Regions from separate parts of the Homo sapiens genome. Here all the other regions are linked to region 1. Evidence: promoter capture Hi-C in human tissues and cell types (Jung and others, 2019). All regions are on one chromosome and are shown on one strand. Each heading gives the region's core, a stretch centred on a gene start or on the middle of the fragment in contact. The rest is flanking DNA. Distances are from core to core; before and after follow the strand shown. Region 1 holds the start of RPS20 (ribosomal protein S20). Region 2 overlaps BPNT2 (3'(2'), 5'-bisphosphate nucleotidase 2). Region 3 overlaps XKR4 (XK related 4).

What was found. The method cuts DNA at HindIII sites, captures the fragments that hold promoters and counts their contacts. A contact is called where the count stands out against the background at its distance.
Region 2: a contact is called between a fragment that was not itself captured here and the fragment with the promoter of RPS20 in region 1, in 1 of the 25 tissues and cell types used here (hippocampus).
Region 3: a contact is called between a fragment that was not itself captured here and the fragment with the promoter of RPS20 in region 1, in 1 of the 25 tissues and cell types used here (mesenchymal stem cells).

Annotation. Positions count from the first base shown.
Region 1 is chr8:56,072,132-56,076,707 of GRCh38, reverse strand. It overlaps RPS20 (ribosomal protein S20), which reads left to right and starts at 2,202. Exons shown (of 4, transcript NM_001023.4): 1 at 2,202-2,327; 2 at 2,549-2,648; 3 at 2,940-3,013; 4 at 3,436-3,654. The coding sequence starts at 2,325. The coding sequence ends at 3,618. SNORD54 (small nucleolar RNA, C/D box 54) reads left to right here and starts at 2,807; the gene lies at 2,807-2,869. CERNA3 (competing endogenous lncRNA 3 for miR-645) reads right to left here and starts at 2,116. Exons shown (of 2, transcript NR_149110.1): 1 at 1,828-2,116; 2 at 1,434-1,701. The HindIII fragment of the contact is 21,018 bases long and covers 1-4,576 here.
Region 2 is chr8:56,969,528-56,974,103 of GRCh38, reverse strand. All of the region lies in intron 3 of BPNT2 (3'(2'), 5'-bisphosphate nucleotidase 2), which reads left to right. Among named protein-coding and RNA genes, the nearest start is that of BPNT2, 22 kb to the left of the region's middle. The HindIII fragment of the contact is 3,036 bases long and covers 1,154-4,189 here.
Region 3 is chr8:55,501,884-55,506,459 of GRCh38, reverse strand. All of the region lies in intron 2 of XKR4 (XK related 4), which reads right to left. Among named protein-coding and RNA genes, the nearest start is that of XKR4-AS1, 17 kb to the left of the region's middle. The HindIII fragment of the contact is 3,129 bases long and covers 370-3,498 here.

The sequences.
Region 1 (4,576 bases), core at 953-3,452:
ACTTGTACAAAATTACAATTGTACTTCTCAATGAAATTCCTTCATTGAATTTCCAGTCATCTTTGAGCATTAGTAAAACATGAATGCCGCTGTATATGTTCACTTAAAATATGCACAGTCACCTCCAGGCAGTACTACAGCGGTGGCTGATCACACCCCAGGGAGCAGGGCAATTGTGCTTTTGTCTATTTGTCGCACACAGCCATACCAATAAGTTAAACCTCTAAGTTATGAAGTCTCAGGTTACAGCTAGCACAATAAGAATGCAGGTTTTCAGAATTTCTGCTGAAAATTCTACTAAGAGAGTATTTACAGACAATGGATTACATTTAAAAATAACTGAACTGGGGCCGGGATAGGTGGCTCACACCTGTAATCCCAGCACTTTGGGAGGCCAAGGCAGGCAGATCGCGAGTTCAGGAGATTGAGACCATCCTGGCTAACACGGTGAAACACCGTCTCTAGTAAAAACACAAAAAATTAGCTGAGAGTGGTGCCACGTGCCTGTGGTCCCAGCTACTCGGGAGGCTGAGGCAGGAGAATTGCTTGAACCCAGGAGGTGGAGGTTGCGGGGAGCCAAAATCGTGCCACTGCATCCAGCCTCGGCGACAGAGCGAGACTCCATCTCAAAAAACAAACAAACAAAAAACCCAAAAAACTGAACTGGAAAACATCCAAATTTGAAAATTTAAAATAATTGTTAAAATGGCAGCAAAAAACCTCATACGTATCGTGAGCCAAAGAAACCCAGTTATTAGTTATGTTCCAATTATCACCAAATAAGACAATGCTATTATTTGATTAAAGTTTCAAACATAATTTCCTACCAAGGAACAGAAGACAAAACCTCAAGAAAGAGTCCTGACGGGGCGAGCGCGGTGGCTCACGCCTGTAATCCCAGCACTTTGGGAGGCCGAGGCGGGCCTGAGATCTGGAGTTTGAGACCAGCATGATCAACATGGAGAAACCCCGTCTCTACTAAAAAAAAAAAAAAAAAAAAAAAAATTAGCCGGGCATGGTGGCGCATGCCTGTAATCCCAGCTACTCCGGAGGCTGAGGCAGGAGAATCGCTTGAACCCAGGAGGCGGAGTTTGCGGTGAGCCGAGATCGCGCCATGGCACTCCAGCCTGGGCAACAAGAATGAAACTCCGTCTCACAAAAAAAAAAAAACAAAACAAACAAAAAAAAAAAACAACAAACAGGCCTGGACGGAGGGGTCAGAGCTCTGTCCCTCCCCATTTCAGAGTGTTTGAGCAAATAACTCTTTCGGCTCAGAGCTTCAGGTGGAAAGTAATATGAGATGATTTTACTCTTCTTTCTGCCCTGTATCAAAATCCATCTCAGTGATTTCCACGTATTTAGCCCCGGCTTCTTGCTCAGGTGTAGGTGAGCTCACCCTGCGCTCTCTCCCACTGCTCAGCTCAGTTGACCATTCGGGTTTTCCACTATACTTGGTCACTTATGTGATTATGAACAGATGTTCAGTATTAAGAAGACCCTGGGGGATCTTATCCAATGACTTTATCCAACAGAAAGGAGATGAGGTATCAGGACTGGGTGGCTAGCCAGGTTCCAGGCCGGGCCTCAGGATAGCTGCGCAGCCTGGCATTTTCGCCTCACTTTCCAGAAGGACGAGAAGCCAAGTTCAGGTCCTTTCCAGAAATAGATGTAGATACTTCTGCTGGACTGGGAAGCCAGGAGCTGAAATATCACAACAGGACGTTTCAGGCTATGAAAAATAACTGCTTACTAATTCTAACGTAAGTTATCCAGATTACGAGAAGCATTTCTGCCAATGCTCATGTCAGCTAAGCTCAGAGAAGTTACCTCATCCTCAGAGAGCAACGAATGGTATGGTCTATGTAGAAAGCAAAATTTGCAACGGAAAAACCAGAGTTCGTGTGCACTTTATGAGGAAGAGGGTTAGGTGCACCAGACAGAGGAGTTTCTCAGGTTTCCGTGTCGCCTGTTCTCTCGACCAGGTGGCCCTCTCGGCGCAGGCGGGGACCCCACCCTGCGGGACTTCGGCTCCTCCGTGCGGACAGGGGGCGCCCGCAGCCGTGCCTTTCCCGCCAACTCCACTAGTGCTCCAGCTCGCCCTTGTGCGACCGCCTCTAGGGCCCGGGATATTTCCTGTTCCGGGGCGTGTGGGACCCGGATGCAAGCGTGCTATATAAGCGTTGCTCAAGTCCCACCCCTTTCTTTTTGAGGAAGACGCGGTCGTAAGGGCTGAGGATTTTTGGTCCGCACGCTCCTGCTCCTGACTCACCGCTGTTCGCTCTCGCCGAGGAACAAGTCGGTCAGGAAGCCCGCGCGCAACAGCCATGGTGAGGCGGCAGTCGGCGGCGGGCGGCGCAACGCAGGGCTCGGGCGCCGGGGGGACCCCGGTTTCGAGTTCGTGCTCCTGAGGGCAGATGCCGGGGCGTGTAGGGGCGGAAAGGCGCTCCTGAAATGGTGGGGAAACGCGGGAAGCTTCCGGAAGCTGCCTTTCTCCAGAAGTGGCAGACCATTTTTGGCTTATTGTTCTTTTTCATGTATCTAATAATAGGCTTTTAAGGATACCGGAAAAACACCCGTGGAGCCGGAGGTGGCAATTCACCGAATTCGAATCACCCTAACAAGCCGCAACGTAAAATCCTTGGAAAAGGGTCAGTGCATTCGTTATGCGGGGGGGAGGGGGAATTGGGCGAAAAGCGACGAGCTTTACTCGTTAATGTTAGTGTAGAAGGTGGACTGCAAGAACTAAAGTGACAAGTTACTTAAAAAAGTAAAGCGTGGCTTAAAATTGCTTTTACTGTCATACAGCTGGCGATGAGGAGGTACCTATTGTGTTGAGTAACGGTGATAATTTTATACGCTATTCTGAGCCAGCAGAAGTGAAGGCCTTAAGCCGATTTTAATTGTTTCGATTATACTGAGAGGTCTTTTATTTCCTGTAGTGTGTGCTGACTTGATAAGAGGCGCAAAAGAAAAGAATCTCAAAGTGAAAGGACCAGTTCGAATGCCTACCAAGGTAAAGTAAATCGGAGGGGCAGGAAGTAGGAGTTGCTTCCGGATGTTGCATAAATTCAGGTTCTTTAAGGAGTTCGGCTGCCAAAATTGTTAACACTGATGCTGTCTACAAACGCACATAGAAATCGGTGGTAGATTGCGGTTCCTAGTAAGTAGCTAATGTTTAGATATGATTGTTGAATTATTGTTGCTGTGTTCTTGGTGTGCTTTGGTGCTTAACAGGCGCAAGCTCTAAGGGTGGTGTCCTAGCACAGTGAAAACAGACCTGGCATTTTCAACCCATGGTACCTGAAAATCTATTAGTGTAAATTGGAATCATACCAAAGGGAAACTAATGAAATGATTAGAAGTAATGATTTTCCAGATGTTCTAGGGATAAGTATAAAACGATAAACACTTGGTTTCCTTTGTCTTTTGTTACAGACTTTGAGAATCACTACAAGAAAAACTCCTTGTGGTGAAGGTTCTAAGACGTGGGATCGTTTCCAGATGAGAATTCACAAGCGACTCATTGACTTGCACAGTCCTTCTGAGATTGTTAAGCAGATTACTTCCATCAGTATTGAGCCAGGAGTTGAGGTGGAAGTCACCATTGCAGATGCTTAAGTCAACTATTTTAATAAATTGATGACCAGTTGTTAACTTCTGTTGGTTTTTATTCAGAATACTGGCAGATTTTAGGAATATAAAGGTGTACTATGAGACTTCCACTTTTCAGGTGGAATATATGGGTATCTTAGAGTGGTCTATCCTGTTTTCGTTGTCGTTTGAGTCATTTGAAAACTGGATTCCGTTAACTACATAATATGTGAGACCTGACTGGTTTTATTGGACACTGGCAGTTTATAACTTTGGCATACTCTAGATAAATTCTGATTGGTATGGGGTGTTAAGGTTTCTGGGGCGTTTGTAATGCACACCCATGGTTGAGAACCTAGTGCGCTAGTAGGCACGTGTTAAAAAGCTAGTAACTAATATTTTTAAATTAACCAAGTTTAACGTCCTTAAAAAAGGATTAAGTGGCAGAGGCAGGACTAAAACTAAGTTTTAGGGTTTTAGGAACTAAAACTTAGTTTAAAAATACTTATATTTTCAGTGTTTTATATTTTAAATATAAAATTTTCACTTTTTTTTTTTGGGGGGGGGGACGGCGTTTTGCTCTGTGGCCCAGGCTGGAGTGCAGTGGTGTGTTCTTGGCTCACTGCAACCTCTGCCTCCCAGGTTCAAGCAATTCTCCTGCCTCAGCCTCCCAAGTAGTTGGGATTACAAGTGCCTGCGACCAAGCCTGGTTAATTTTTTATTTTATAGTAGAGATGGGGTTTTGTCCTGTTGTTCAGGCTGGTCTCAAACTCCTGACCTCAGGTGATCCACCTGCCTCAGCCTCCCAAAGTGCTGGGATTACAGGCATGAGCCACCATGCCTGGCCCATTTTCACTTTTACATTTTTTAAAAATACTTATATTTTCAGTGTTTTAGACAGGGTCTCTGCAGTCCAGGCTGGAGTGCAGTGGTGTGATCACTGCAGCCTTGACCTGGGCTCATGCAATCCACCTCAAACTGCCTA
Region 2 (4,576 bases), core at 1,422-3,921, 900 kb before region 1:
AAAATCATAAGAGCAAATATATGATTGAATAAGAGGGAAATTGCTTATCCTAAAGGTCTTCATCCTCTTTGTCTTCACATTGAATAGGCAGAGGAGGAGGAGAAAGAGAAAGGATTATTAGTTTTGTTGTCTCGGGTGGAGGAGGTGGAAGGAGAGGCAGGATATACTTGATGTAATTTTGTGAAAATATGTTGTAATGTCTGTTTGACTTTTTTACTTTTCATTTCTCTAAAAATTTTACTATATGGTACCAATCCTTCCTTATTTGCTTTAGTTTCAGTGACTGTATCGTAAAATGGTCCATGTCATAAAAGAAGTCAAAAGCAGTCTTGAATAATGAGAACCTTTCTTCCAGATTGTCTAAAATCAATTTATTTTCTGGCACTGCTTCTTCTACATCTTCTTTCTCATCGTCTAGCCCTGGTTTGAAGCACTCATCTCCATCAAGTCGTCTTCTGTTAATCCTCTGGTGTGGTGTCTGTTCACTCTTGAATGTCTCCAAGATCCCTATCTTGAAACCCTCTACGCCCCACCTTTTAAAAATAATATCTGCACTCTCATGATTTTCTTGATTGCCTCTGTTGTAAATCTTGTGGAGACATGCACAACATCTGGACAGTTTTTTCCAGCAGGAACTTATTATTTTGGGCTTGACGAATTCATGGGTTTTCTATAACAGTGGCATCTTTAGTGGTGTAATCCTTCCAGACTTTGAATGATTTTCTCTGTCAGGGTTCTCTACTATTGGTATTGACAGTCCTTTCCATAGAGTACTTTGTATAATGAGCCTTAAAGGTCCTTATGACCTCCTGCTCTAGAGGCTGGATTAGAGACGTAGTGTTTGGGGGCAAGTAAATCACTTGATGCTTTTAGTGTTGAACTCATGGGGTTCTCGGTAGCCAGGGGCATTGTCCAGTACTCAAAGAACTTTAAAAGGCAGTCCCTTACTGGCAAAGTACTTTCAGACTTCAGGGTCAAAGCATCAGTGGACTCAATCCAGAAAAAGGATTCTTGTTGTCCAGGCCTTCTTGTTGTAGTCAGAAGACTAGCAAGCAGCTGGTGTTTTATCTTTTCCTTTCAAGACTCGGGGGTTAGCGGTTTTGTAGATAAGGGCTGTCCTGGTCATAAACCTGACTGCATTATACAAAACAGTAGAGTTAGCCCATCCCTTCCTGTCTTAAATCCTAGTGCTCATTTCTCTTCCTTACTAATAAATGTATTTTGTGGCCCCTTTTTTAAATTTTTTTTTTTTTTCCAGAATAGGACACTTGTCTGCATTGAAAACCTGTTCAAGCAGACAGAACTCAGTGATTTTCTTAATGGCATCTGGGGACTTGTCTGCTGCCTCTTGGTTGGTAGAAGCTGCTACTCCTGTTATCTTGGCATTTTTAAAAACCAGACCTCTTTCTAAAATTATCAAACCATCCTTTACTGGCATTAAATAATCCAGCTTTAGATTCTTCACCTTCCTTTTTTTTAAAGTTGTCATATGACTTCATTTTTTCTTGAATCATACTACAGTCTTTAGGCATGTAGCAGTTTTATACCCACATAATAGCTGCATTTTCAATATGAGATAAAAAGGTATTTCATTAAAAAGTGTTAAGGTTTTTGCACCTGTTGGTGTGTAGCTTCAGCAATGGCTTCATGAGTTTTCTTGTTTTTTTTTTCCCACAATTATTCTTACGCTGTATTCATTTATCTTGAGATAGCAGGCAGCCACAGTTACAGACCTCAATCTGTGGTGTATATCAAGCAATTCAACTTTTTCTTGTAATGTCATGATTTTTCTCTAGGTGGGAGCACTTCCGGCATCACTAGTGGCTCTTCAAATGAGTCTCATGGGTGTTATTCAAAGTTTGCATTAAACACTATGAAATTGTACTAAACACTATGAAAAATATGCAAAACCCACAAAAGATCACTTTTTACCATGATGAGCAGTTTGCCGGAGAGACAAACTGCTCACACAGAGATGATTACATCACGTAGGGTTTCTTTTTTTTTTTCTTTTTTTTGAGACGGAGTCTCGCTCGGCTGGAGTGCAGTGGCGTGATCTCAGCCCACTGCAGGCTCCACCTCCCAGGTTCACGCCATTCTCCTGCCTCAGCCTCCCGAGTAGCTGGAACTGCAGATGCCTGACACCACGCCCGGCTAATTTTTTGTATTTTTAGTAGAGACGGGGTATCACCATGTTAGCCAGGATGGTCTCGATCTTCTGACCTCATGATCCGCCCTCCTCAGCCTCCCAAAGTCACATAGGGTTTTAAGTGGGTGCTCATGACACTTGGGCCCACACAGTAGCATTGTGGGGGGGGGGGTGGTACAAAATTATTTCAGTAATACATACTATAATTTTGTGCAGTTTATGATTTTACATTTGTTTACATTTCTCTTAACTGTGAATGGCACTACGTATGTATGGTCTGTAAGTGCTTGTGTGCTTAAGTTTTGGTAAGTTTTAACTTCTTATACTTTGTGTATATTTTATGGTAGTAAATGACAAAATAAGCTAGTTCCAACATATTTTATGCATTCATAACATACCTAGCTTTTTCTTAAATTTTTAATATTTCTAGGCTACTTAATTTGTCCGTGAATTTTTTTCAAATCGTCACAAATCTCCAAAAAGCTTACCAAAATATTTATTGAAAAATATCTGGATGTAAGGGGAGCCACACAGTTCAAACCTGTGTTGTTCAAGGGTCAAGTGTATATTCACTCGGTGGAAATTTTATAGCTATTAATAATAAATTGTTATTTCTGAAGTAGGTGTAGGAACGTACCAACCAACCACTTTTTATTTCCTACTGGGCTTTTTTTTTTTTTTTTTTAAGCTTATCTTACAGGTAAAATAAACACATTTTGTAGCTGCTCTTCTGCCTTACCACTATACCTCATTATCATCCATCATTTACATTTATTTAAGCACCTACTGTACTAGACACTTGAAATAATTATGTTCATGTAAGTGTTACTAATAAATGTATTGAGTTTATGTAACATGAAGAACATTTTTAAAAATACTAAGTCAGCAATTCTTACATTATTCTGGTAGTATGTACTGAGATATGCTATAATATTTTTATTCTCTTACACAATACTGACCTCTAGAGATAAAGCACTGTAAATTCACTTCTTAGTAAAACTGGTTTTTGGAATATTTATGAAAAGGATTAAGAGGATTTTTTGTTTTGTTCTCTTCATTTTTTTTTACTTTTATGAATAATTTCAAACAAACGTAAAATTATAATGAATACTTATATACCCCTTCATCCTGATTTAGCAGTTGATAACAGTTTTACATATTTGCTTTCCTATTTTTTGGCCTGTGTACCTTAAAGAAAATTATAAGGATCATAATAAACATTTTACCCTTATACTTCAGTATGCATCTCTAAAAAGTAAGGAGATTTTCTACAAAAGGACAGTATATTAATATAATAAAATTAACAGTTATTTCCTAATGTCATCAAATATTTACATTTCCCCGATTGCTGCTAAAATGGATTTTACAGCTGATTGCTTCAAACCAAGATCCAGTCAACCAACAAGCATTTATTTTGGTTGATAGGTTGTTAAGGTTTCTTAATCTAGAACAACCCCTAGGCCCCTTATGCCCCCCATGACATTGATGTTGGGAAGCTTAAGTCATTTCTCCTTTAGAATGGTCTGTCTTTTGGACTTGTCTGATTGTTTCCAAAGGGTGTCATTTAACTTCTTTATTTTTATATCCTCTTATAAAAAGTGCAGATTAGATCTGAATCCTTGATTGGATTGAGGTTAAGCATTTTTGTCATGAATACATTGTAGGTATTTTTCACATACTTCCTACTGCATCATATTACACAATACTTGTCTCGCCATTCATGATGCTCAGATGATTAAAGTGTTCATGACCTGATCTCTTAGTTACAAAATTTTTATTTTTTTGCTACTAGCAAGTAATCTGGAGAGATTTTGACATCATTTGAGATCCAGTTTTATTAAACCTTTTGCATAATAGTTTTAAGCTCTATTAAAGATGTTATAAAATGAGATTTTCTGTTTCTGTTGTTTCTACATATATTAGCATGAATTCTTCTATAGAGAATTTTCTCTATTAACTGGAATTAATTTGTTTATCCTGAAATGTTTCTTCTAGAAAAGCGGGATAAATGTTTAATTCTTTTACTTTATTTACCAATTTTCAGAGTAAGGAGTTAGAGTATAGAACCCTTCCAGCGGTAACATGTTTTTCCAGGAAGGAACAGGCTTCCTCTCTGTAAAATATTCTTATGATCTTAATGAATTTTATATGTTCAGTGTGGTTCAGACAACTACTGTTATTTTAAGTTAAATTTGTTCTTTTTGTTGCTTTTACTAATGCCTTTATTTATCCTTTTTTCTTTACATACTCATGTAGTCCTTTTCTTTAGACATTGTCTCATTGTCTCTTGGTTCACTACTATAAGCGTCAGTGAAATTAGCATATTTCATCCTTGACCATCATTTCATTTTAGACAGTTGTTTTTTTTTGATGTTTACTTTTCGACTCTGCTGTTCAGCTTGTCAGAGTTAAATGGTGTCCTTTAAC
Region 3 (4,576 bases), core at 685-3,184, 570 kb after region 1:
AGTCAGTGCTGCTGCTGGGGGTAGTGACTGATCAAGGCACTGCAGTACAGGTCTATAGTGTGTGCCTGATCTGCAGCTTTTCCTTCTGGCTGAGGTCTTGAGTGGGAAACCTTGTGGCTGGTATCTGATTTTTGCTGTGAGCCTTTCAGGCCTATCTATTTGATCTCTAGTTAGTAGAGATGCCAGACTGATTCAGGAGTCCTCTCCTTACATCACCCACTGTCCTAAGTCCTCCCAGATGCCCTGTGGACTGAGAGAAAACACCTGTTGTTTAATTTGCATTTCATGCATTCGTGGGAGAGGGGGCACACAAACACAAAAAACCTCTGAAAGGATACAGGCTGTGTTTTGCAAGGGGAATCTCATTCTGTCTTTCAATTACTTCAGAGTTATAAAATGGTGGCTACTGCCAGTTAGAAGTTAAAGCATTTGCACACATTTATGTTGAGCAGTGCAGAACCTGTATGACCACATATGACAGCTCTTGAAAAAGTTGCTTTAAAAGTTCAAATATATATTTTGATATAGGAAGATTATTTGGTGTCATGATGGACATGGCCTGATTTAAAACAAATTACTTCATGTATCTTAGTATCTGTTTTAGTTTTCCTGTTTTTAAAAATCAGGTTGTTCAACCAAAAAGAAGATTAATAAGGAAATAGAGGACTTCAGCAGAAAATACATTTTTCTTAAGCACACATGCAACATTCTCCAGGATAGACCATACATTAGGCCACAAAACAGGTCCTAAACCATTTCAAAGGACTGAAATTATAGAAAGTATCTTTTCGGATCACAATGAGATGAAACTAGAAATAAATAGCAGAGGGAAATCTGTAAAATTCACAAATACATGGAAATTAAACTACATACTCTTTATTTTTATTTTTTAAAAATTTGTTTGTTTTTGAGATGGGGTCTTGTTCTGTTGCCCAGGCAGGAGTATCATGGTGCAATCATAGCTCACTGCAACCTGGAACTCCTGGGCTCAAGGGATCCTCCTATATCAGCTTCTCAGGTAGCTGGGACTATGGGTGTGTGCCATCATGCCTGGCTATTTTATTTTATTTTATTTTATTTAGTAGAGATGAAGTCTTGCTATGTTGCCCAGGCTTAAACAACATACTCTTAACCAGTGGGTCAAAGAAGAAATCACAAGGGAAATTATAAAATATCTTGAGACAAATAAAAATGAAAAAACAACGCAGCAAAAACTAATAGATGCAGCAAAAACTAATAGATGCAGCAAAGCAATGCTAAGCTAAAACATCTATAGATATAAATGCTCACATTGAAAAATAAGGTCTCAAATCAATAATCTAGCTTTACACCTTAAAAAACTATAAAAAGTAGAACAAACTAAACACAAAGCTTGCCGGAGAAAGGAAATAATAATAATTAGAGCAGAAATAAAATAGAGAATAGAAAAACAATAGAGAAAATCAAGAAAACCAAAAGTTAGTTCTTTAAAAGGATCAACAAAATTGACAAAATCTTTAGCTAGATTAAGAAAAAAAAAGAACCTCAATTATTAAAATCAGTAGCAAAAGTTGGGACATCACTACGAATTTTACAGAAGTAAAAAGAATTATAAGAGAATACTATGAAGAGTTGTATGCCAATTAGAATTGGGTAATCTAAAAGAAGTGGACAAATTCCTAGAAATACAAAATCTACCAAGACTGAATCATAAAGAAATAAAAAATTTGAACAGACCTATCACTAGTAAGGAGATAACATCTGTTAGGCAAAACCATCTAACAAAGAAAAGCCCAGGGATCTGATGGATTCCCTGGTAAATTTTACCAAATATTTAAAGAGGAATTACCATAAATCCTTCTCAAATACTCTCAAAATACTGAAAAGAAGGGAACAATTCCTACTTCATTCAAGAATTACCTTTATACCAAAGCCAGATAGAAACACTACAAGTAAAGAAAACTACAGCTGGGAACGGTGGCTCACGCCTGTAATCCCAACACTTTGGGAGGCTGAGGTGGGCAGATTGCCTGAGATCAGGAGTTGGAGACCAGTCTGGCCAACATGGTGAAACCCCATCTCTACTAAAAAAAAAAAAAAATTAGCCAGGTGTGGTGGGGTGTGCCTGTAATCCTAGCTACTTGGGAGGCTGAGACAGGGGAATTGCTTGAGCCAGGGAGGTGGAGGTTGCAGTGAGCTGAGATCGCATCACTGCACTCCAGCCTGGGCGACAGAGTGAGACTCTGTCTCAAACAAAACAAAACAAAACAAAACAAAACAAAACAAAACAAAAACAACAACAACAACAAAAAAGAAAACTACAAACCAATATCCCTTATGAACATTGATGCAAAAATCCTCAACAAAATACTGGCAAACTGCATTCAGTAGCATATTAAACGGATTTTGTACCATGACCAAGTAGGATTTATTCCTGAAATACAAGGATGATTTAAGATATAAAAATTAATTAATGTAATACAGCACATTAACAGAATGGAGGGGGAAAACACACCACATTATCATCTCAATAGATGCAAAAAAAGCATTTGACAAAATTTAACACTATTTCAAGATTAAAAAAACTCAACAAACTAAGAATAGAAGGAAACTACCTCATCATAATAAAGGCCATAAACGAAAAGCCCACAGCTAAAAAAATACTTGATGGTAAAAGACTGAAAGCTTTTCTTCTAAGGTCAAGAAAAAGACAAGGATGCCCACTTTTGCAACTTCTCTTCAAAGTAGTATTAAAAGTCCCAGTCAGAGCAATTAGGCAAGAAAATGAAATAAAAGACATGCAAATGAGAAAAGAAGAATTAAAATTATCTCTGAATAGATAACATAATTTGTAGACAATTCTAAAGATTCCACAAAAAACATGACAGAACTAATAAGTCAATATTGCAAAGTTGCAGGATAAAAAATAAATATAAAATCAGTTGTGCTTCTATATGCTAACAGTGGACAACATGAATATATTTGCAATACATGTAATGGAAACATGAAAAGGAAATTAAGAAAAAATTTCATTTATAATAGCTTGAAAAAGAATAAAATACTTATAAATTAACCAAAGAAGCAAAAGGTATGTATATTGAAAACTACAAAATGTTGCTAAAGGAAATGAAAGAAGCCATAAATAAGTGGAAAGATATCCTGTTTTCATGGGTTAGAAGTCTTAATATTGTTAAGATGTCAATACTACCCAAAGTGATCTACAGACTCAGAGAAATACCTATCACAATGACATTTTTTACAAAAATAGAAAAATCCATCCTAAAATTCGTATGGAATCACAGAGGTCCCAGAAAAGCAAAAATAATCTTGAAAAAAAAATTTGAATCACAATTTCTGATTTGAAAGCTTACTACAAAGCTACAGTAATCAAAACAGTGTAGTACTGACAGAAAGACAGACAAATAGACCAATGAAATAGAAGAGTGAGCCCAGAAATATACCCCCACATAGATGGTCAAACGATTTTTGACAAGATTGCCAAGACATTCAATGGGGAAAGGAAAGTCTTTTCAACAAATGGTCTGGGAAAACATATGCAAAAAGGGTGGACTCTTACCTTACACCACATGCAAAAATTACCTAAAATGGATCAAAAGCCTAAATGTAAAAACTAAAAGTAGAAAATTCTTAGAAGAAAATATAGAGGAAAAGCTTTATGATATTTGATTTGGCAGTGATTTCTTGGGTATGACACCAAAAGTATAGGCAACAAAAGAAAAAAATAAATTGGACTTCATCAAAATGTAAATCTTTGTACATCAAAGGATACTATCAACAGAGTAAAAAGACAGTCATAGAATGGGAAAAATATTTGTAAACCATATGTCTGATAAAGATATATTAAAAAAAAACTATAACTCAATAACAACCTCCCCACCCCAAAATTCAATTTAGAAATGGGCAAAGGAATTTGAACAGATATTTCTTCAAAGAGGTTACACAGATGGCCAATAAGCACATGAAAAGATACTCAACATCACTAAGGATTAGAGAAATACCAATTAAAACCACAATGAGATATAATTTCATATTTCATACCTATTAGTATGGCTATTACTTAAAAAAAAAAAGAAAATAGCAGGTGTTGGTGAGAATGTGAAGAAATAGGAACACTTGTGTACTGTTGGTGGGAATGTTAAATGGTGCATCCCGTATGAAAAACAGTATGTCAGTTCTCCAAGCAATTAAACATAGAATTACCACATGATCTGGCAATTCCATTTCTGGATACATAGTCAGCCCTCTTTGCCCATGGGTTCTGCATCCATGGATTCAAATATATTTGAAAAACATTGAAAAAATATATTTTTCAAATTGAAAAGATTCATGGATCAAAAATATTTGAAAAAAGAGGATGGTTGTCTCTGTACTCAAAATGTACAGACTTTTATTTTCTTGTCATTATCCCCTAAACAATATGTTATACCAACTCCTTACATAGCATTTACGCTGTATTGTACATTGTAAGTAATTTAAAGATGACTTAGAGTATATGGGAAGATGTGCTATAGGTTATATGCAAATACTACACCATTTTATATAAGAGACTTGAGCGTTTGTGGATTCTGCTATCCCA